Regions from separate parts of the Homo sapiens genome. Here regions 1, 3 and 4 are each linked to region 2. The links are contacts of gene promoters, found by promoter capture Hi-C in human tissues and cell types (Jung and others, 2019). All regions are on one chromosome and are shown on one strand. The core of a region is centred on a gene start or on the middle of the fragment in contact, and the rest is flanking DNA. Distances in the headings are between cores, read along the strand shown. Region 1 overlaps PPP1R36 (protein phosphatase 1 regulatory subunit 36). Region 2 holds the start of PLEKHG3 (pleckstrin homology and RhoGEF domain containing G3). Region 3 overlaps ZBTB25 (zinc finger and BTB domain containing 25). Region 4 holds the start of HSPA2 (heat shock protein family A (Hsp70) member 2).

Evidence for each region. The method cuts DNA at HindIII sites, captures the fragments that hold promoters and counts their contacts. A contact is called where the count stands out against the background at its distance.
Region 1: a fragment that was not itself captured here is called in contact with the fragment with the promoter of PLEKHG3 in region 2 in 2 of the 25 tissues and cell types used here (dorsolateral prefrontal cortex and hippocampus).
Region 3: a contact is called between a fragment that was not itself captured here and the fragment with the promoter of PLEKHG3 in region 2, in 1 of the 25 tissues and cell types used here (thymus).
Region 4: a contact is called between a fragment that was not itself captured here and the fragment with the promoter of PLEKHG3 in region 2, in 5 of the 25 tissues and cell types used here (H1 embryonic stem cells, dorsolateral prefrontal cortex, heart right ventricle and 2 more).

Annotation. Positions count from the first base shown.
Region 1 is chr14:64,570,801-64,576,368 of GRCh38, forward strand. PPP1R36 (protein phosphatase 1 regulatory subunit 36) reads left to right here. Exons shown (of 12, transcript NM_172365.3): 8 at 3,655-3,789. Among named protein-coding and RNA genes, the nearest start is that of PPP1R36, 24 kb to the left of the region's middle. RefSeq lists an enhancer at 2,346-2,882 and a silencer at 2,371-2,665. The HindIII fragment of the contact is 3,512 bases long and covers 2,563-5,568 here.
Region 2 is chr14:64,703,029-64,708,838 of GRCh38, forward strand. It overlaps PLEKHG3 (pleckstrin homology and RhoGEF domain containing G3), which reads left to right and starts at 1,396. Exons shown (of 17, transcript NM_001308147.2): 1 at 1,396-1,676. RefSeq lists enhancers at 1-176, 5,410-5,810. The HindIII fragment of the contact is 6,175 bases long and covers 1-3,667 here.
Region 3 is chr14:64,491,237-64,497,238 of GRCh38, forward strand. The region is part of intron 1 of ZBTB25 (zinc finger and BTB domain containing 25); the gene reads right to left. Among named protein-coding and RNA genes, the nearest start is that of ZBTB25, 9.6 kb to the right of the region's middle. The HindIII fragment of the contact is 3,343 bases long and covers 549-3,891 here.
Region 4 is chr14:64,538,328-64,543,850 of GRCh38, forward strand. HSPA2 (heat shock protein family A (Hsp70) member 2) reads left to right here and starts at 2,414. Exons shown (of 1, transcript NM_021979.4): 1 at 2,414-4,910. The coding sequence starts at 2,523. The coding sequence ends at 4,442. HSPA2-AS1 (HSPA2 and ZBTB1 antisense RNA 1) reads right to left here and starts at 2,041. Exons shown (of 4, transcript NR_110550.1): 1 at 1,990-2,041. RefSeq lists a silencer at 2,189-2,278 and an enhancer at 2,449-2,558. The HindIII fragment of the contact is 3,177 bases long and covers 2,439-5,523 here.

The sequences.
Region 1 (5,568 bases), core at 3,069-5,568, 130 kb before region 2:
CACTTAATTGATGTCAGGTGATTAAAAGCCCTACTTCCAAAAGAAGAAGCCTTATCCCTATTTTACAGATGAAGAAATTAAGGCTCACAGAGGTTAAATAGTTTGTTGGGGATTACGTACCATACCTAGGAGATGACATTACAGTTCCTAGGTGGAACTGATATTAGAACCCAGGTCTGTTTAACTCCAAGGCTTGTGCCTTAATCACTGTACAACATGCCCAGCACTTCCCACCAATCAACTGCACTGTTTTCCAGAGTTTATCTGTCCGTAATTAGAATTTTTAGCTTCTGAACAATTATGTATGTACTGTTTGTTTGTTTGTTTGTTTGTTTGTTTGTTTGAAACGGAGTCTTGCTCCATCAACCAAGCTGGAGTGCAGTGGCACAATCTCGGCTCACTGTAACCTCTGCCTCCCGGGTTCAAGTGATTCTCCTGCCTCAGCCTCCTGAGTAGCTGACACTACAGGCATGTGCTACCATGCCTGGCTAATTTTTTATATTTTTGGTAGGGATAGAGTTTCACCATGTTGGCCAGGCTGACCTTGAACTCCTGACCTCAGGTGATCCACCCACCTCAGCCTCCCAAAGTGCTGGGATTATAAGCCTGAGCCACCGTGCCCAGCCTGTATGTACTTTTAAACATAATATCATATGTACTTTCAAGTTACTATAATCTTCATAATTATAATTTTTAATGGTAGCATAGTTTTCCATCAAGCCAATGTGTGTGAATTGACTTACCTACTAAGAGGCAGTATATTATAGTGGTTAAGGGTACAGATTTTGATGCTTGGGTTACATCTCGTGGAAGACTCACTCATAAGTTAGGTTAATAAGCATCAAGTCCTTAAACAATACCTGACCGTATTGCTGCTCCCTTTATCCTTCTGTATTAGTCTGTTCTCATGTTTCTAATAAAGACATACCCAACTGGGTAATTTATAAAGGAAAGAGGCTTAATGGACTCACAGTTCCACATGGCTGCGGAGGCCTCACAATCATGGTGGAAGGCGAATGAGGAGCAACAGCATGTCTTACATGGTGGCAGGCAAGAAAGCATGCGCAGGGGAACACCCCTCATAAAACTATCAGATCTCATGAAACTTATTCACTATCATGAAACAGCATGGGAAAGACCCGCCACGATGATTCAGTTACCTCCCATTGGGTCCCTCCCATGACACATGGGAATTATGGGAGCTACAATTTAAGATGAGATTTGGGTGGGGACACAGCCAAACCATATCACCTTCTATTTTATATATTTTGGCAGTTTCTAATTTTTCTGATATATAAATAATGATTGCATTGAATATCCTCATGCATAAAAGTTTCCTCCTAATTTTGGATGATTTTTTTAAAAGAATAAATTTCCAGGAGAGATGATATTGGATCAAAATTTATGATAATTTCTATGGCTCTTGAAATTATTTTCAGTTTTTTTCCCCAAAGGATTATGCCAATTTTCTGTTACAAGCAATGCATAAGCGCATCCGTTTCAACAAAATTTTGTCAGCATTATTGTTTGCACTTTTAAAGAATGTGCTTTAAAAGTGAACCACTAACTGGCTTTGTATTTAAGGCAGTTTTACAAAATTAGATGAAAACAGTATGGGGGAATGGTTTCCAGACACAGAAATGTGGTGCAAACAGGCCACCTCTGCCTGGAGTTTTGTATATAGGTTAGCTTCTCTTGAGTATTTTTTTTTCATAGCTTTTTCCTTTTTTTTCCATTTCAACACATCAGTTCTTTATGTATATGTGCATATGGGGTCTAGGGACCACTTGCCTTGGAATCATTTGGGAAGATTGTTTTAAATTTCCTGGGCTAGACCCAGACTCCTGAGCCAGAATCTTGGAGAGAGGGTTGCACTGGGAATTTGCACTGTTAGCAAGTATCCCCAGTGATTCTTTCATAATTCATAGGTTTATTAAAACTTGAGAAGCATTGGCCTAAAAGCTTCAAGGCATTCCTTGGTGGCTGTAGTTTGATTTGGTTGTTTTCTACAGCAAAAGAAGAATATTAGCTACTGGCAGCTCTGGCAGAGTAGGGTGACCAGTGAGGGTGGAGCTGCTGAAGGAAACAGGCACAGGGGTGTGGCCACTGGGGTGCATCTGGAGGGGTGTGTTTGGGTTATATCCTCCATGCCATGAGGGGAAGGGGGTGTATTAAGGATAATACAGTTTGTCTTTGTATTAAGGATAATAATAACTGTTCTTGCTGACTTCATGGAGTCAGTCCAATGGTTATATCAGAAGGGGCAGTCATTTGTCCCTGTTTAGAGTAAATATCATTTGGTGTCTAGTGACACCTCACTTTTCCATAAGAGTACAACTCACTTTTCAATAACAGTACATTGGAATGTATCATCAGCAATATTTCCTACTGTATTGTATAGCAGAAACTTAAAATTTGGCTTCAGACATGCTGTAACCTAAGAACAGTTTGTCTTTGTGAAAGTTCATTTGCAATTCAATTGGAACTGCAGCTGGTTTCACAGGGAAGCAGTGTTATTGTAACTGATGCCAAAGTTCCCAGAGTAGTAGTTCACAGATGCCTTCTTAGCAAACACAGCTACACTCAAAATGGAGAGTTGGTCCTTGTTCACATGTTGAGCCCCCAAGCTCAGTAGTGACATAGGGAACGCAGGGGAAGCTGAGGTACGTAGCCTCCACGGTTGTTTTAGGAAAATAGCAGGAAAGTAGGCTGCTAACCGCCTGAGCAACCAGTATAGATAATTTGTTAATTGAGCTGTTCTATATAAATTAGGACTACCTGCATATAAAATTGAGGATACATAACATAATCTATTAAAAAAGCGAAAATAGGCCGGGTGTGGTGGTTCATGCCTGTAATCCCAGCACTTTGGGAGGCCAAGGTGGGTGGATCACTTGAGGTCGGGAGTTCAAGACCAGCCTGGCCAACATGGTGAAACCCTGTCTCTACTAAAAATACAAAAATTAGCCAGGCATGGTGGTAGGCACCTGTAATCCCAGTTACTCGGGAGGCTGAGGCAGGAGAATTCCTTGAACCCGGGAGGTGGAGGTCTCAGTGAGCCGAGTTCATGCCACTTGCACTCCAGCTTGGGCGACACAGCGAGACTCTGTCTCAAAAAAAAAAAAAAAAAAAAAAAAAAAAAAAGCAAAAATACACCATAAGCTTGAGATGCTGATTCCAATGATTAAATATGAAGGGACTTTAAGGATTTTCCTATACCATTGCTTAAATAACATAAACTCATTGGTAAGTGAAGTCTGTTGACTCACTTGTATTTCTTTCAGAATAGTTTATGGCTGGGCACACTGGCTCACGCCTGCCATCCCAACACTTTGGGAGGCCAAGGGGAGGATCACTTGAGTCCAGGAGTTCAAGATTAGCCTGGACAACAGAGTGAGACCCTGCCTCTACACAAAATAAAAAAAGATTAGCCAGGCATGGTGGCATGCGCCTATGAGGCAGGAGGATTGCTTGAGCCCTGGAGGTTGAGGCTGCAGTGAGCTGTGATCGCACCACTGCACTCCAGCCTAGGTAGCAGAGCAAGACTCTGTCTTAAAGAAAAGAAGAAAAGTTTATAATTCTGACTTTTTGCTAGTTAATATAGGCACTTATGACAATTAACCCAAATTCTCTTTTTTTTGTCCTCCCCATCAGAGGCCTTGTAGAGAAAAAAGAAATGGAATTGGTTTTAAGTGAATTAGAAGCAGCACAGAGGTACTTGGCGCAGAAGTACTGTATCCTTGTGCTGGGCTTGGCCGTGCCGGATAAGCATCACATGTGCTGTGGAAAGTAAGCAGATACTTACACTTCATTAGATCATCACTCCATCATAGACTCACATCCTTAAGATGCTTCCGTTTGACTTTTGTTACCTTGAGAAAATGTTCCTTTTTCTGTTGTCCAGAGTAATTGGGCTCAGGTGAGAATCTGTCCCAAACCCTTGTAATGTCTCCTTTGAGAGACCAAAGTGCATGTGGAAGAAATCTCAGAATCTCAGCGGATATTTTTAAAACTTTCCACTGCTTGAGATTGAATGACATGGTCTCTCAGTGAAATCTTGCTCTCAACCAGGAAGGGCTCTTGCTGCCAGACTTGGCTCCCTTGGGCAGGAGGTCTGGTGGGGCCGGTAGTGCAGGGGGATTAGGTGTCTCCCTATCCTTTTACTGCTTATTTTGCAGCAGCAACAATTGTGAGTAGGAGCTGCTGAGGTGTGGATTCTAAGATGGTTCTTTGTGGGAAGATCATTTTTACCTTAGGATGACTATTTTTACACCACTGTAATTAAAACTTAAAGAGGAGTCTCATCACAGGTTTGGGATCACAAGGTCGAACACATCAACCCTTAACTCAGAATCTCCTTCTCTGAGTTTCACAACAGGCCCCAGATCTACCTCATGGTCATAGCCAGAACAGTTTTTTTCCCCCATAGGAAAATAATTATTCCCCCCATAGGAAAAGAACCTAGTACATGATGTGTCTCTTTCTACATTCTCCACATTTTCAAAGACCAGCTTTGTCAATGAGCATACTTACACAGTTGTTGGTATATACATTTTTGTATTCTGTATTTCCTGGGTACTTTCTCTTATTATTCTGACTATGTGATTTCACTTACCACTTTGAATAGGATTCTGTTATGTAACATACATATTTGCTTAACCATTCTTTTTGTGTACATTTGCATAATTTTAGTTTTTGTGTGTTATAATATTTCTGCATTGAATATTCTTTGTTCATTTGGACTATTTCCTTATGGCTTATTTTCCACAGTATATTTACCTAGAAAGCCACAGTTTTGTAGCTCTTGATACATACTGCTAGATTGTTCTCTATAAAGGTTAAGACATTTTGGGGTTTTTTTTTTTTTTGAGACATAGTCTTGCTCTGTTGCCCAGGCTGGACTGCAGTGGCACGATCTTGGCTCACTGCAAGCCCCGCCTCCTGGGTTCACGCCATTCTCCTGTCTCAGCCTCCCAAGTAGCTGGGACTACAGGCGCCCGCCACCACGCCCAGCTAATTTTTTGTATTTTTAGTAGAGACAGGGTTTCACCATGTTAGCCAGGATGGTCTCGATCTCCTGACCTCGTGATCCACCCGCCTCGGCCTCCCAAAGTGCTGGGATTACAGGTGTGAGCCACTGCGCCTGGCCTAGTTTAAGACATTTTGTATTACCATCAGCAGTAAGTATATCTGGTTGCATTGGGTTTTATTACTTTAATATTTTTGATAGTTTAAAGGTGTATAAAAAGCTTAAAGATGTTTTATTTGACTGAGTATCTTTTTTTTTTTTTTTTTTTTGACAAAGTCTCGCTCTTGTCCCCATAGGCTGGAGTGCAATGGTGTGATCTCGGCTCACTGCAACCTCTGCCTCCCAGGTTCAAGTGATTCTCCTGTCTCGGCCTCCCGAGTAGCTGGGATTACAGGCACACACCACCATGCCTGATTAATTTTTGTATTTTTAGTAGAGATGGGGTTTCACCATATTGGTCAGGCTGGTCTCAAACTCCTGACCTCAGGTGATCCACCCACCTCAGCCTCCCAAAGTGCTGGGATTACGGGCATGAGCCA
Region 2 (5,810 bases), core at 146-2,645:
GAAGGCCAGAAGGGGGACTTGTCACTTCTCCCCTGGCCGGCGGGGTCTAGCGGAGCCCCAACTAAGTTGATCTATTTCCGAGCCCCTCTTCTGCAATCTCTGCTCTCACCTTCACGGTCCGCGAGTCTGGGGCTCTGCAAGCCTCCAACACACCCTCCCTCCCTAAGGAATGTGGGCCCCGCTTTCTGGGCCTGCCAGACCGAGCGCCTACCGCTTCCTCCGCAGGCAGGAGCCGGGACGCTGCCTTCACCCCACCCTCCGCCAGGATCCAGTTTCAAAGTCACCTGAAAGCCATTTCCTTCCGCGCCTGCCCCGCCTCTCCCCTCCCAGTAGATCACCTGGAGCTTGCATTTGCCCAGAGCAGCATTTTGGGGCGGGCGCTTGTTTTGTTTTAAATGATACCTCTAGAAATCGTTTGCTGTACACCTGGATAACAAATATACCCCGTGGTTCTAATATCAGCGTCCTATTCCTCCTCCCAAGGAACTAGTGATAGCGCCTAACCAGTGGGCGTTGTTCCTCTTCCGGAGCCCCACTCTGGGCTTCCCTCCTCCGGGCTTGTTGTTCTTCAGGATCTTTACTGATGAATTATTATGGGTTTTTGGATTTATGCTCTTGCTCAAAATGTATTGAATGTCTCTGTCCCCCATCCTCACCCCTTGCCCCCCAGTTTCCAGGTGTGTACCTTTCCATGCATACACGGTCATATACAGAGACATAAAGACAAACGGTTCTCTTTGTTTTATAAAAACGGGTCCTCTATCATCCAGGTTTCTGTGTTTTATTTTTCCTATTTAACAGTTCCTTGTGGAGTTGCCTTCACGTTGTCTCCTTTATCTCTTTCCCGTCAGCTTCTCAGAGGTCTGCATTTACCACTGTAAAGCGTCACAGGGACCGAGTTATGGTGAGGAATTCAAGACATGCCTTTCTGACTTGGAAAAGCGGACACGGCCGGCTCTGGTAGGATTAGGATCCCCAGATCGATCCCGGCTGGTCACTCACTTGGGAAAGCCCTCAGCCCCCTTCGCAGGGCCCGGTGTTCCCTGTCCATACAAGGGGTACGTTCTGGCAGTCCATGCTGTCTCGGGAGGCGGTGATAGCAGGTCTGTGACACCAGGGTGACCCCACCACGTGCGTCTTGGTATCCTAGAGCATCTAGGCTGCCCGGGGGTGCGCGCTCATCACCCTGCGGGCGTTAATCGTTAACCGCGCCCAGGCCTCGCCGCCGCCGCAGCCTTACCCCGGCTCTGGCTCGCCGCGCCGCGAAGGTTGCCCCGGCCCCCGCAGAGCCGCCAATTGCTGGACTGCAGCCGCGAGCTGGAGTCTCCACCCACAGGAAAAATTCCTGGCCCGCCCCTCCCTCGCTCCCTCGCTCCCTCGCTCCCTCGCTCCCTCGCTCCCTCGCTCCCTCGCTCCCTCCTGCCCTCCCGCTGCAGCTCCGGCTCCGCTCGACTTCCTGCCGGGCGCTGGCAAGCCGCGCGCTGCCTGGGGTCTCCGGGGGCCGCGCTTGCAGCTGGCCGAGTCCGGGCCAGCTGAGGGGCTGGCGGTGGGCGGGAGCGGTCGGCGGCCTCAGCCCCTTCAGAGAGCGACTTTCAAACTCGCGCCCGCGTCGCGGCAGCACCTGGGCAGCCCCGCACGCCGTGCGCGTCCCGAGCCCGCGGGGCAGCTACCGCTCGGTGAGTGTCCCCTGATTCTCCTCTCTCCCCTCTTATCTCCCTGCATTAGGCTGAGCGGCGGTGCCGGCAGTCACGCTGGGGCCCCAGTCCCTTCGCGGCCCCCGTGCCAGCCCCCTGCGGGGTGAGGACCGGGGCGACCGAGGAGGGCCTGGAACTGTGTTGGCTGCTTCCCGGGCCACCCTGCCGCAGAGTGCGCGAGCGCAGGAGGGTCGTATGGGGAGACTTTTTCTGTCTTTTTTTCCCTCCACTCCGGAAACAAAAGGGGCAAATGCGCCGGGCGGCTCCAGAGAGGCTCAGTTTGAAATCCAGGAAGCCCGCGAGGCCGCGCGCGCCCGAGGGCTGGTGTTTGGCTGGAGCTGTGGGCCTGGCGGGTGGACCCTTCTGCGCGAGGACCCGAGCCTCGGCTCCTGCCAGCCCCGGAGGCGCCTGCAGCCTGTTCCGGGTTGGCGCCGCACGGTGCTCGCTGTTGGGAATCTCGGCTACCTGTCCGGCAGGGAGGAGAGTGGGGGCCAGAAGCGGGGAGCGGAAAGCCCGGCCACCAGCTGCCTCGACCTCGTCCACTCCTGAAGTCGGTTTGGTTCTTCGCACCCCTACACCCAGCCCTTTGGTTTGGAAAGCCAGTATAAGGCGTGCAAGCTTAAATTTTTAAGGCGTTAAATAGCTACTTTGACTCTTCGGGGCGCCTTTGGAACACAAAAGGAAGAACGGAGGGGAGAATGGAATGGTTGGAGGCTGGAGAGGTGTGGCTTTTGGGGAGGGTGTTGTTAGAGGCCGCGAAAGAGTTTGATCCTCGAGGTCACTCGCTAATCTGTTGGCATATGTAGGTGCCTGTCCCCTGCTCTGGGGGCCCCAGCAGGAGACCCACACTGCGTTCACCTTACGGGGAACCCTGGAGTGGGGGTTCCCAGAGTCTCCCCAGCCGTGCCTCTGCACGCAGCCCAGTCACATGGCCCTTGCTCAAGAAATAATAAGCAGGGAGGGCAATGACAGTCCGGAGCGGGGGAGGGCCTCCCCGTTGAGCACATCGGCCACCTCGCCTTCAGCAGTGTGGTTTTCCGGGCCATCCTTTGTTGGACAAGGATGGGATCCTGAGTGATTAAACCCCAGCTGTTCCCCAGGAGGAAACTAGGGAGTGAGAACCAAAAGTGTACATTTATCTCTCTGTTATACATCTCTCCCCTGTGGTTCCGGGCTGGCCCCCTGGATGCAATGGCCTCACTTCTCCTTTCGACACCTGCTGTCCTCCACTCCCTTCCTGGAAGATAGGACAACCCATTAGCTCCCTGGGTAACTTGCCCTGGGGATGGGGCAGGAAGTTGGGGGAAGAGGTACCCAGAGGCCAAGTCCTAGCTGCTGAGGGAGTGATTTGTTGAAGAGCTGCTTTGGGGGCTTTTCTACTGCCTTTTATTAGAAGTGGCATGGCAGGGGAAGTGGAAAGAGCACTGGCCTGATAGTCCAGCACGGGTTTATGCCTGAGTTTTAGACCTGGCTCTTCTGCATAGCATGGAAGATTGGTAGAGTTGAAGAGTGCGAGTCACTTGGGCTGGGGGGCCCCTTGGATTAGCCTACTTCATTTACTCGTGAAGGCAGCAGAGCCCAGAGGGGTGAGGTGATTTCAGCCTTAGACCCTATTGGCCAAGTAGAAACCAGAGGTCAGATGTCCTCATTGTCTGATCTGTGTTTTCTCCAACATGATCTGGCCAATTCACTTATCTTTTCTGACTCAGTTTCCACATAAATAAAGTGGGATTACTTGCCTGCTCTTCCTCATAGGAGCTGTGGTGAGGATCAAAGGAAGCCTCATTTGTGGAAAGTGCTCCATAAACTCCTGTTAAAACTAAAGGGCTCACAGTGGCTCGGGAGGGAGTCTCCCAAGGGTTTTACAATTTGCTGGCTATGTCCCACGTGTGTGCCACAAGGAGACGTTAGATACCAGGAGCCATTGTTGGATGTTTAAAACACCCTGGTCTTAATATCTCAGCCCCAGAGTAAACATTTGCCTTACCAAATCCGCAGCTATCCCACGGTCACTGTTTACGCTGGAAGAGGCCAAAGGCCACGGCCTGCGGGATGACCAGGGCTGGAGGGGGAAGGCTCCTCTGTTGCAGAGGTATGCCTTGCCCGTTCTCTTCTCCCAGCTCCCAGAACCTTGTGAAGGCTCCAGCTGTAAGCCAGGGGTGCTGCCACAAGCCCAGGCCGCCCTGGCCTTGGAGGGTTAAAAGTGAAGCCCTCTGGCTATTCTCTGTTGTGTTGGGGGTTGCAGGGACTCTGGGAGGGTGTTGCTTTTGCAGCTGCACTGAGGGCTGTCTTCAGCTCCTCATCTGTGCCCCCTCCCCCATCTCAGGCCGCCCCTCTGGCCCAGGCCACTGCTCTGTCCCGCCTCTCTGGCCAGCTGCAAGTCCACAGGCCTTTGTTCCGTGGCTGCAAACCCGCCCTACTCCATCCTCCCTCCTCAGCAGAAGCCCTCCAGCGGGGGCCCTGGCAGCTGGAAATCACAACTGCCAGGAGGAAGGGGCTACTGGAGCCCCCAGCGGACCTGGCAGATCCTCATTTCCTCTTGTCAAGCTCATCTGGGCCCCACAACTCACCTCTGGCCAGATTCCCACACCGTCTTTTCTCATCTCTCCTTTCTTCTGCTGAATGGACGGATCACCTTTTCCTCCCAGTACTCATGCCCCTTAGTTCTATTTTAAAGTACTCTATTCATTCATTTAATAGTTAAGGAGTTAGCACCTACTATGTATGAATGCCAGATGCAGAAGACACAGCAGTGAAGAAAATATACAATAATTATTGACCCAGTGGAGCTGACTTTAGCAGAAGTGACAATAAACAAGATTGAAATAGCAAGTGTGTTAGTGATAAACAGAAATAAAAAATATGATAGGGAAGGTAGGTGTGAATTGTCATGGAAGGGGTGAGGTGACAGTTTAGATAGGGTGGCCAGGGAGGCTTCCAGGAGGAAGGTACTTTTGAGGTGATGCCTGAAGGCGGTATTTTTCTTCATCGCTGCCTTTTCTAACTTGAAGCCCAGTTCATCCCACTGTGGCATCGAGGAACAGAGTTTGGAGTTGGACACACCTTGGTTTCAAATCCCTGGCTTGACAGCTCACTAGCCCTGTGGACTTTGATGTGGTGCTAAATTCCTTTGAGCTGTGTTTCTTACCCAACGTGGAGTTAGTCATCATACTTACCACATGCGGCATCATGGCAATGTACAGTGAGATAACGTATGTTGAATGCTTAGCAAAGACTATAGAGAGGTTCGATAAACTATTTCTCCAACCAAATTCTGCAGGGGTAGCATGAGATATTTAATGTCATTGCTAAGGACTGTAGGTGCAAAGCTTTTCATTTTAGATATTGGGCAGGAGTGGGGAATTAGAGGGAGGGGAAAATAGAAAACCTTGGCAAAAACTTTCTGGTTAGGGAGGCTTTCCTGCCCTACCCTAGATTGCAGATGGCTGAGGACGTGGGACTCCCAGGTATGTCCTATGCCCACCCCCATCCTACAGATAGGATGACAGGGGCAGCCCTGACCACCCCCCTCTTGCTCTGGAATTCCCCCTGCTTCCAGCCAGACTCAATGAATCACACCTTCTCCCTGACCTCCCGACTCTGCCTCACAGCTGGGAAGGCTGTCCACCCCTCCCCCAGCCTCCGGCAGGTAAATTATGCCTGGAGGTCGGAAGCGGAGTGGGGCGGGGACAAGGGGTAGGGAAAGTGAGGGAGGGGGCAGATGGTGGGTGGAGCTGTCCTAGGAAAGCCCAGAAGGGTGGCAGGAGGATTCTGGTGGAGGCTTCGAGATGGCTCGGAAGACTTTGAATAAGGGTTCGCCAGGGACCAGAATTTAAAGTAACAGAGTGACAGACACAATGAGAACTCAGGGTCGGCTGCCTAACTCCTAGCCGCTTCTACCCAGCTGATCTGCTGAGTCTCCGACCCTCTCTGCTGGAACCACGGGCCTACAAAGGGAGGGGTTTAATCTAAAGTACCGCTGTCAAAGTTTGTGGTGAGTGGCTTCCTGGAGACCCTGCCCTAGTTCAGGAAGTGAGAGATGGGCAGTGGAGGATGAGGCCTAGGGAAGTGGTCATGGCCAGTTCCACCCCCCCGCCCCACCCCCCAAGTATGTCG
Region 3 (6,002 bases), core at 970-3,469, 210 kb before region 2:
AGGAGGGTTGCTTGAGCCCAGGTATTGGAGACCAACCTGAGCAATATAGTGAAACGTCATCTCCACAAAAAATAAAACAATTAGCTAGGTATGGTGGCATGCACCTGTACTCCCAACTACTTGAGGGGCTGAGGCAGGAGGATCACTTAAGACTGGGAGGTCAAGGCTGCAGTGAGCTGTGATCACACCACTGCACTCCAGCCTGGGCAACAGTGAGACTCTGTCTCAAAAACACACACACACACACAAAAGAAAGAACTGATCTCAACTGGATTCAGACGCATATTATAATGTAGGTTCCCAAAGGAAGTAAAAGGCAAGGTGGAACAACTGCGGGGAAGCCTATATGAGGAAGAACATGCAGAATTCTGGCCAAGAAGCCGAGTATAAGCAGCAAAAACATTCAGAAGTGCCCTGGTTTCAGGCAGGTGGCAGACTGTACATCATCTTCTCTACCCTACTGTGGAGAGAGCCCTGGTACTTTAGGCAGAAGGTAGCTGTAGTATAAAGGGCATCATTGGGTGGCCAGGAGAACATCCTTTGAAAGAGCAGACACTGAAAAAGAGAATGAGGTTTCCACACCAGCCAGCCAGACCAAGGTCTAAGGAGGTCAGTGATGTAATGCAGGGTTAGCCGTCTAAAGATTGGCAGTGGCTTGGGCAGCAGACAGCTAAGTGATCAGTAATATAATAAATATAGCTAACATTTTATAGTGCTTCCTATGTGTCAAAAATTAGCCAGGCACGGTGGTGCATGCTTTAGTCCCAGCTACTTGGGTGGATGTGACAGGAGGATAGCTTTAGCCAGGAAGATTGAGGCTACAGTAAGCCATGATCATGCCACTGCACTTCACCCTGGGTGACAGAGCAAGACCCTATCTCAAAAAAAAAAAAAAAAAAAAAAGGCAGACTCTATTAAAACTACATATTTAATGTACTGATGTGGAATAATCCCCAAGTTATATTATTATTATTATTATTATTATTTGAGACGGAGTTTTGCTCTTGTTGACCAGGCTGGAGTGCAACGGCTCCATCTCGGCTTACTGCAACCTCCGCCTCCTGGGTTTAAGCGATTCTCCTGCCTCAGCCTCCCAAGTAGCTGGCATTACAGGTGCCCGCCACCATGCCCAGCTAATTTTTGTATTTTTAGTAGAGACGGGAGTTCACCATGTTGGCCAGGCTGGTCTCAAACTCCTGACCTCAGGTGATCTGCCCACCTCAGCCTCCTAAAGGCATGAGCCACCGTGCCCGGCCTAACAAACTAAAAATCTGTATTGACAATTTCAGCATGTGAAAAACGTGTCTTAGAATCAATGAAATGGTTCATATTGAAGCATCTTAAACTAGCCTGATAAGTTGTCTCAAAAAAAAAAAACAAAACCAAACCCTCGGATCATAAACATTTTCACCAGTTCTTCCCATTATATTGAACTACTGAACCATAGGGAAATGAGACATAGCACACTAATAAGCCACCCATACAGGAATCTTATGGTTAATGGTCTGTTGGTAACAGTTAAATTCTTCACTTATTCAACAGATATTTTTGAAGAGCAATTTAATAAAGAAAAAATGTGTAAAAGCCTGCATTGTACAAGGCGTGGAGACAGAAAAAAATGACAAGATGCTACACTCAAGATTACAGGCTCACAGGAAAGATAAAACATCAAACCATAATTATAATATGAAATAAATGCATTCAGTAGCACAGAGCAGTTAGAGAACATGCTATCAGAGGGAGATAAACACAGGCAACTTGATGGGAAACAAGGCCAGGCAGAAAAAATAAAATGAATAAAATTACTGGGAAGAATATGAATAGTTAGATAACAGAAGGATTCAGCTTGGCATAGAAAAAAAAAGTAACAGAAATAATGAAATGTGGTCAGTTCAAAAAGCATACAGAATATAAGACTAAAAAGTAGTGTCGTGTTTGAAGTGAACTATGTAAGATGTTTGAGTAAGAACAGCATGATCAGTTAACTTACTCTGTGGGAGGGAGAACAGAGCGTGGTAGTTAAAGCTTGAACTAAAATCAGACAGCTTAAAATTTTAGCTCTGCCATTTACTAGCTGCGTGGTCTTGGCAAGACACTTAACTCTCTGGGCCTCCATTTCACTTATAAAATATGGACAATGACAGTATCTAACTTATAGGTTATTTGAATTTAATGATATAATGCACTTAGAAACAGTGGGCCCACAGTTAGTGCCTAATAAATACTAGGCATTATCATCATCACCATCATTAGGCGTGAGTAAAGACTGCTCTAACAGCAACATATAAAAAATATTAGCAAGGGAAAAGGCATGGAGAAAGACTGGCTAGGAGCCTACTATGGTATCAAAGTAATCGCAGTGGGAATGAAGGAAGGAATACAAGAGATACATCAGACACAAAACTGACATGACTTGTCACCACAGAGATCAAATCAAAGGTGAGTCTCAGAATTCCAGCTTGGGTAATTGGAAGAATTCATCCATTCCTTCAGATTACATTTTCAGAGTAACTGCCATGTGCTAGGTGTTGATATAAAGGCAGAGTCCCAGAACATTAGAGAAGAAGTACAGAAACCGTCTTGATAAGAGGTTCTGAGACCCCACCTCAAAAAAAAAAAAAAGAAGAAGAAGAATAGGGGTTTCACTTCAGACACTCTGAGCTCCAAGTGTCTACCAGGTATCTAAGTAGAAATGTTTAGTGATCAGCGGGGACAAGAAGCAGGACAGGGCTCTAGAGAGAGCAGAGCCAGAGAGGGAGAAGAGGCCTCTGAAACGACAAGGCTGAAGTAACCAAGTATGAAAATAATAAAGTAGACTAAAAAGTAGAATGAAATAAGAGGGAAAAAAGCTAAGAATGAATCTTTGGAAAACAGAAAAGACAAAATAAGACAGAGGAGGAGAAAAAAGAAAACATCGTCATTGAGGAAAGGCAATGACCTTGCAGAAAGGAGATGGCAATGGTGCAAAACACTGAAGAGAAACATGGGGGTGAGGCCCATTACAAACATGTCGAGTGTACTGACCAAAAGATTCCTGGTAACCTCTGACAATAGTACAGGAAAGCAGCAAGGGCCAAATATCTGACTGCAGGGGATATTAGAAACCAGAGGCTAGGCCAAGCGCAGTGGCCCACGCCTGTAATCCCAGCCCTTTGGGAGGACAAGGTGAGTGGACCACTTGAGGCCAGGAGTTTGAGACCAACCTGAACAACATGGTGAGACCCCGTCTCTACTCAAAATACAAAAATTAGCCAGGTGTGGTAGCACATGCCTGTAATCCCAGCTACTTGGGAGGTTGAGGCAGAAGAATCACTTGAACCCAGGAGGCAGAGGTTGCAGTGAGCTGAGATCCACTGCACTCCAGCCTGGGCAACAGAGCGAGACTCTGTCTCAAAAAAAAATAAAAAAATAAAAATAAAGAAACCAGAGGGTATAAAGCTTAGACACAGACATGACAGGACAGGACATTAAGGAAGCTGCAGATCAGAAGACCCAAACATACCTCTTCCCTTTACATATGAAAGAAACCTGGAGTAATAAACTCTGAAACTTACATAGAGCACTGAAGTTTACAGAGAACTTTCATATACAATAACTTATTTCTCTACTTCAGATTAGATAATTTCTATTAATCTATCCTCAAATTAAATGACTTATCTGTCATATCTGATCTGTTAAATCTATTCAAGATTGTTTCAGATATTGTATTTTCAGATGTAAAATTTTCATTTCATTCTTTTTTAAAGTTTCTAATTCTCTGCTGAGATTTCCTATTTGTTCACATATACAACATTTTGCTTTACATCCTTGAGCATAGTTATAATAGCTGCTGCTTTAAATCTTCTCTGCTAAATCCAACCTTTGGCTAATTATGGGGTCAGTCTCCACTGATTAGGGTGATTGTTTCTGGATTATAGTCTAGGTATTGTGATTAATACAATTCACTCTAGATTCTGTAATATTCTTCCAAAGAGTGTTTGTGTTTTTGTTTTTTGCAGACAATTACCTTAGCTGGACTTAAACTCCAAGTTCTGCCTCCCCTATGGTGGACAGCAGCTGAAATCTCTGCTCCTTTAGCCTTAAGTGTGCTGTTTGGAGGCTGCTCCACACATGTACAGTTGAGGGGTTTGCAAGAAATTCAAGCAGAGTTTATAAACAGTGTTTGGGGTTCTGCCACTCCAACATTCTTTCTAGGATTTTCTCCTGCACTTTCCAGCTGCATGATCACTGTGAGCTCTGTCCTCTTTTCTTCAAGAGAGATTACAGGTTGTTATTACAGTTGTAGCCACCTCTTCATATCACCAGCTGGGACCTTATGCCAGTCTAAAAGCCATAAAAACAGAAGCTTATTCATTGCTGTTCTCCTCTTCCAGTTGCAGACCTCAATCTAGTTTTTGTAATTCTCAAATGCCATCTATTAATTTTTAAAACTTTTATCAGCTGGGCGTAGTGGCTCATGCCTGTAATCCCAGAACTTTGGGAGGCAGAGGCGGGCAGATCACCTGAGGTCGGGAGTTCGAGACCAGCCTGGCCAACATGGAGAAACCCCATCTCTACTAAAAATACAAAATTAGCGGGTGTGGTGGCACATGCCTGTAATCCCAGCTACTCTGGAGGCTGAGGCAGGTGAACTGCTTGAACCTGGGAGGCAGAGGTTGCGGTAAGCTGAGATCACGCTACTGCACTCCAACCTGGGCAACAAGAGCGAAACTCCATCTCAAAAGGAAAAAAAAAAAAAGTGTATCAAGTTTATAGTTATCTGCAGGAAACTGTCCTGATAGGAACTATTCAACCATTACCCCCTCCCCCAACATTGTGTTCTTTTTAAACGAAAGCAATTTATTAGAAAATAAATAAAAGAATGGCTACTCCATAGGCAGAGCAGCCCTACTCAACCATTACTGTTTATCAGCAGTTCTAAAAAGCTGTGGTCTCAAGATCCACTCACACTCTAAAAAGTATTACAGACCAGTCACGGTGGCTCACGCCTGTAATCCCAGCACTTTGGGAGGCCAAGGCAGGCGGATCACAAGGTCAGGAGTTCAAGACCAGCCTGGCCAACATGGTGAAACCCCGTCTCTACTAAAAATACAAAAAAAAAAGCTGGGCACAGTGGCGTGTGCCTGTAATCCCAGCTACTCGGGAGGCTGAGGCAGGAGAACTGTTTGAACCGGGACCTGGGAGGAAGAGGTTGCAGTGAGCCGAGATCACACCACTGCATTCCAGCCTGGGCTACAGAGCGAGACTCCATCTCAAAAAAAAAGTATTAGAGATTGTGAAGAGCTGTTGTTTATATAGGTTATATTTATCAATATTTACTATATTCAAAATTAAAAGAAATTTTAAAATATTTAAAATAGCAATAAACCCATTACATATTAACATATTTTTTCCTAAAAAATTTTTCAAAAACAAGTGAGAAGGGTGATATTAATTTACATTTTGCAATCCTCTTTAATATCTGGCTTTAACAGATACAGCTGGACTCTCTTATCTGATTCTGCATTCAATCTGTTGTCATCTCTTGTTTTGGTTCAAGTATATTGAGAATCTGTTCTTACATAAGGGAGATCCTTATTGACCCATGAAACCTCCAGTGGCTCCTTGGACTACACTTTGAGAACCACTGCCCTACACTATCTTTTTTTCTTTTAAATCTTGTGAGGTAGTAGAGCAGGTACTATCAGCTCTATTTTATGGCTGAGAAACCACAGGCTCAGAGAAGGCAGGAAACATACCTGAAGTCAAACAACTAGCTATTAAATGGTGCTGATAATACATCAAGACTGAGTTTAAACCCAGGGCCCTTTCTTCAAAACCCCATCTAGAACTTTCAACATTTACACTGTTGGCAGATTTTGCAAATATGTTGAATCAAATAAGGGAGTAAACTTTTCAAGTGTATAAAATGAAACAAATTAAAATCTATTAAAAAAAAAACACCAAGTACACATGAGGTGCATTCAAACTTGTTTTGCATAATAGGAGATCTTTGATGTTGT
Region 4 (5,523 bases), core at 2,777-5,276, 160 kb before region 2:
AAAGGACGGTGCTCCCAGCCCAAAGCCTCAGGAAAAAGACCATGGCTCAAAAAGCTCTGAGATGTATCCTATCCACCTGAAGAGCCTATTGCTTGCCTGTATCCCTCCCTTCTAGTGACACTAATCTTCTGTACAGAAATCCTAGTCCAGCAAACATTGCTCTCATCTTCGCCCATACACAACCTATGTAAAGAATGGCTTTCCTACTCTTTGCTGGCGAACTTCAGCTCCCGGATTAGGCATGCCACCTCTTCCAGGTAGCTCTCAGCAACGCACTTTTCCATCAGCCTGGGTGTGCCCCTCTGTGTTCCCATGGCGCTTTGCTTTCAGCGCTTCTCCCAAATTATGTTTACCTGTTTATTAGACTCTCCACCTCTGAAGACCAGGCCATTTCATTTGGCTTTTTACTGCCACGTAGTAGGTACCTGTTCAAGCTTGATGGAAGGACTTCCCCAGCCTCCCCACACATATTATGTAAAGTGATCGCTGTCTTTGCTTCCTCCTGGAGACCATTTATTTTATTTTTTTGAGACGGAGTCTCGTTCTGTCGCCCAGGCTGGAGTGCAGTGTCGCAATCTCGACTGACTGCAACCTCTGCCTCTCGAGTAGCTGGGACTACAGGCGCGCGCCACCACGCCCGGCTAATTTTTGTATTTTTAGTAGAGACGGGGTTTCACCATGTTGGCCAGGCTGGCCTCGAACTTCTGACAGCAAGTGATCCACCTACCGCGGCCTTTCAAAGTGCTGAAACTACAGGCATGAGCCTCCACACCCGTCCAGGAGCCCATTTATATGGGAGCCTGCTTCTAAAGATTATTACCTGGTGCCAGGGTATTTTCCAGACCTGTCCTCACATTCCTGTTAAACAGGAGGAAGTGAATCGCGCTCCTTTTCATCTACCTTCTCGGAGGGTTTATGCCTCCAATATTAACCTCAGCACAGCCAAAGAAAATCATTCCATTCCATTGAGCGGAGTCAGAAACATGACTAGGTCACGATCACAACCCCGTGTGTGCCAGGGTGACCGAGACTGGGTGACTTTATGGTGTTTCAACGTGTGGGTTTTGACTGATTATATTATGGGTTTTCCAGTCAAAAACTCAAAGCAGTGGATAAAGCACTTGCGACCTAAAATAAGCAATGGAATGAACAGGAAGGCGAAACCAGAGTTTAAAGCGGCAGGACAAACAGGAAAAAGGAAGAGTGAGGCAGGAAGGGTTTAAATGCAGGCTCCTCGGAGGACAAGTCGCCGCCACACCCCTGTCTGCCGTCCCGCCAGCCGCCCTCACGCGGCGCGGGAAAACGGTCGGCCTCGCCCTGGGCTCAGGTTCTCTCCGCCCGCCAGGCAGTGGGGTTTTTTTTTGTTTTTTTTGAGACGGAGTCTCGCTCAGTCGCCCAGGCTGGAGTGTAGTGGCGTGATCTCGGCTCACTGCAACCTCCACCTCCCGGGTTCAAGCGATTCTCCTGCCTCAGCCTCCCGAGTAGCTGAGACTACAGGCACGCGCCACCACGCCCAGCTAATTTTTGTATCTTTAGTAGAGACGGGCTTTCACCATGTTGGCCAGGATGGTCTCGATGTCTTAACGTCGTGATCCGGCCGCCTCGGCCTCCCAAGTGCTGGGATTACAGGCGTTAGCCACTGCGCCCGGCCCCAGCCAGGCAGTTTTAATCGAGCGCTCACAACCACTGAGACGCAGTGAAGCACCCACCATAAAATCCCAGGAGGCCGACCGCCGGTTCAGACTTTTTCTTTTCTTTAATCCCCGTCCAAGGGATCCGCCCTCACCCCCCACCCCAGCCACCCCAATTCCCTATTCCCTCCCCTTGGACGGCGCCGGGGAAAACAAGCTGCTCGAGCTTTATTTCTTCGGTGCAACCAACTCAGAATGAATTCCTCCGCCCCTGCGTGCTCAGTGAGTCGGCACCCTAGCAGTGAACTGCATTTAAAACCTCAGGAATTGAGCGAACTCTCCCAGTGGCTCTCCTCACCGGGATCCCCTTCCACGCCTCCTCCCCGTGCCGCGCCTCAGTCCGCACTGCTCATTGGCCGCGTGCCCTGCCAATCCGATGCACGTCGGCTAGGGCAAAGACCGCGAAAAAGCGCGTACACCTGGCTCTGGGAGCGCGCGCCTAACGCCAGCCAGCAGCAGGAGGCGCGCGAGGCACCACGGCCTGGCGGCCGAGAGTCAGGGAGGAACCTCATTTACATAACGGCCGCCCCTCTGTCTCCTGGCGGGGGCCGGAGTCCCGCCCCTCGTCCAACTTGAAATCTGTTGGGTCACGGGCCAGTCACTCCGACCTAGGCAAGCCTGTGGTGGAGCTGGAAGAGTTTGTGAGGGCGGTCCCGGGAGCGGATTGGGTCTGGGAGTTCCCAGAGGCGGCTATAAGAACCGGGAACTGGGCGCGGGGAGCTGAGTTGCTGGTAGTGCCCGTGGTGCTTGGTTCGAGGTGGCCGTTAGTTGACTCCGCGGAGTTCATCTCCCTGGTTTTCCCGTCCTAACGTCGCTCGCCTTTCAGTCAGGATGTCTGCCCGTGGCCCGGCTATCGGCATCGACCTGGGCACCACCTATTCGTGCGTCGGGGTCTTCCAACATGGCAAGGTGGAGATCATCGCCAACGACCAGGGCAATCGCACCACCCCCAGCTACGTGGCCTTCACGGACACCGAGCGCCTCATCGGCGACGCCGCCAAGAACCAGGTGGCCATGAACCCCACCAACACCATCTTCGACGCCAAGAGGCTGATTGGACGGAAATTCGAGGATGCCACAGTGCAGTCGGATATGAAACACTGGCCGTTCCGGGTGGTGAGCGAGGGAGGCAAGCCCAAAGTGCAAGTAGAGTACAAGGGGGAGACCAAGACCTTCTTCCCAGAGGAGATATCCTCCATGGTCCTCACGAAGATGAAGGAGATCGCGGAAGCCTACCTGGGGGGCAAGGTGCACAGCGCGGTCATAACGGTCCCGGCCTATTTCAACGACTCGCAGCGCCAGGCCACCAAGGACGCAGGCACCATCACGGGGCTCAATGTGCTGCGCATCATCAACGAGCCCACGGCGGCGGCCATCGCCTACGGCCTGGACAAGAAGGGCTGCGCGGGCGGCGAGAAGAACGTGCTCATCTTTGACCTGGGCGGTGGCACTTTCGACGTGTCCATCCTGACCATCGAGGATGGCATCTTCGAGGTGAAGTCCACGGCCGGCGACACCCACCTGGGCGGTGAGGACTTCGACAACCGCATGGTGAGCCACCTGGCGGAGGAGTTCAAGCGCAAGCACAAGAAGGACATTGGGCCCAACAAGCGCGCCGTGAGGCGGCTGCGCACCGCTTGCGAGCGCGCCAAGCGCACCCTGAGCTCGTCCACGCAGGCGAGCATCGAGATCGACTCGCTCTACGAGGGCGTGGACTTCTATACGTCCATCACGCGCGCCCGCTTCGAGGAGCTCAATGCCGACCTCTTTCGCGGGACCCTGGAGCCGGTGGAGAAGGCGCTGCGCGACGCCAAGCTGGACAAGGGCCAGATCCAGGAGATCGTGCTGGTGGGCGGCTCCACTCGTATCCCCAAGATCCAGAAGCTGCTGCAGGATTTCTTCAACGGCAAGGAGCTGAACAAGAGCATCAACCCCGACGAGGCGGTGGCCTATGGCGCCGCGGTGCAGGCGGCCATCCTCATCGGCGACAAATCAGAGAATGTGCAGGACCTGCTGCTACTCGACGTGACCCCGTTGTCGCTGGGCATCGAGACAGCTGGCGGTGTCATGACCCCACTCATCAAGAGGAACACCACGATCCCCACCAAGCAGACGCAGACCTTCACCACCTACTCGGACAACCAGAGCAGCGTACTGGTGCAGGTATACGAGGGCGAACGGGCCATGACCAAGGACAATAACCTGCTGGGCAAGTTCGACCTGACCGGGATTCCCCCTGCGCCTCGCGGGGTCCCCCAAATCGAGGTTACCTTCGACATTGACGCCAATGGCATCCTTAACGTTACCGCCGCCGACAAGAGCACCGGTAAGGAAAACAAAATCACCATCACCAATGACAAAGGTCGTCTGAGCAAGGACGACATTGACCGGATGGTGCAGGAGGCGGAGCGGTACAAATCGGAAGATGAGGCGAATCGCGACCGAGTCGCGGCCAAAAACGCCCTGGAGTCCTATACCTACAACATCAAGCAGACGGTGGAAGACGAGAAACTGAGGGGCAAGATTAGCGAGCAGGACAAAAACAAGATCCTCGACAAGTGTCAGGAGGTGATCAACTGGCTCGACCGAAACCAGATGGCAGAGAAAGATGAGTATGAACACAAGCAGAAAGAGCTCGAAAGAGTTTGCAACCCCATCATCAGCAAACTTTACCAAGGTGGTCCTGGCGGCGGCAGCGGCGGCGGCGGTTCAGGAGCCTCCGGGGGACCCACCATCGAAGAAGTGGACTAAGCTTGCACTCAAGTCAGCGTAAACCTCTTTGCCTTTCTCTCTCTCTCTTTTTTTTTGTTTGTTTCTTTGAAATGTCCTTGTGCCAAGTACGAGATCTATTGTTGGAAGTCTTTGGTATATGCAAATGAAAGGAGAGGTGCAACAACTTAGTTTAATTATAAAAGTTCCAAAGTTTGTTTTTTAAAAACATTATTCGAGGTTTCTCTTTAATGCATTTTGCGTGTTTGCTGACTTGAGCATTTTTGATTAGTTCGTGCATGGAGATTTGTTTGAGATGAGAAACCTTAAGTTTGCACACCTGTTCTGTAGAAGCTTGGAAACAGTAAAATATATAGGAGCTTAAATTGTTTATTTTTATGTACTACTTTAAAACTAAACTGAACATTGCAGTAATGTTAAGGACAGGTATACTTTTTGCAAACAAATGCATAAATGCAAATGTAAAGTAAAGCTGAAATTGATCTCAAAGTTACTGTCTTGGAGTTTTCAATTTTCCTTCCTTTATATTTTACCCATATTCGTCTTTTAAGATGTTAGTATGATGTGAAATTTATCTAACCAATCTTGTTTAATTCCCAGATGAGGGTGCTGCCTTGAATTCCAACAACTTAAGGGGAGAAGAATCTGGGTAAACTTCACCCACCCTTAAATACAGAAACCTGACTTGGGGTCTTCCTAGTGTACTCACACTCCTACAACTTAAGTGTCCAAATGAAAATTCACCTGAATATTCCAGGAAAATATGAGCTATATTCTGGGGTTAAATGTAAAATGAGCCTTTAACAAAAGCTGGGCAGAAGTTGTCTTATAATTGCCAAAGGAAATATGGAAACAAATTAATTTTGTGACATACAGGAGCCTGAAACAAGAGACAGCAGGCAAGCTTTCAAGTGACTTAATAGTGAGTATAAATTTAGTCAAACTTGTTTAATTTTCTAGTAAAACAGCTCAACTTCTGAGCTTATGGCAAATTCTAATAACATGTTTCCCGCAGTTAGAATTACTTGGGTAGGGAAACATAATTATTATTATTTTTTTCTGGTTTGGGGATCATAACGTTTTTGCAATACTTGCCTTAAAT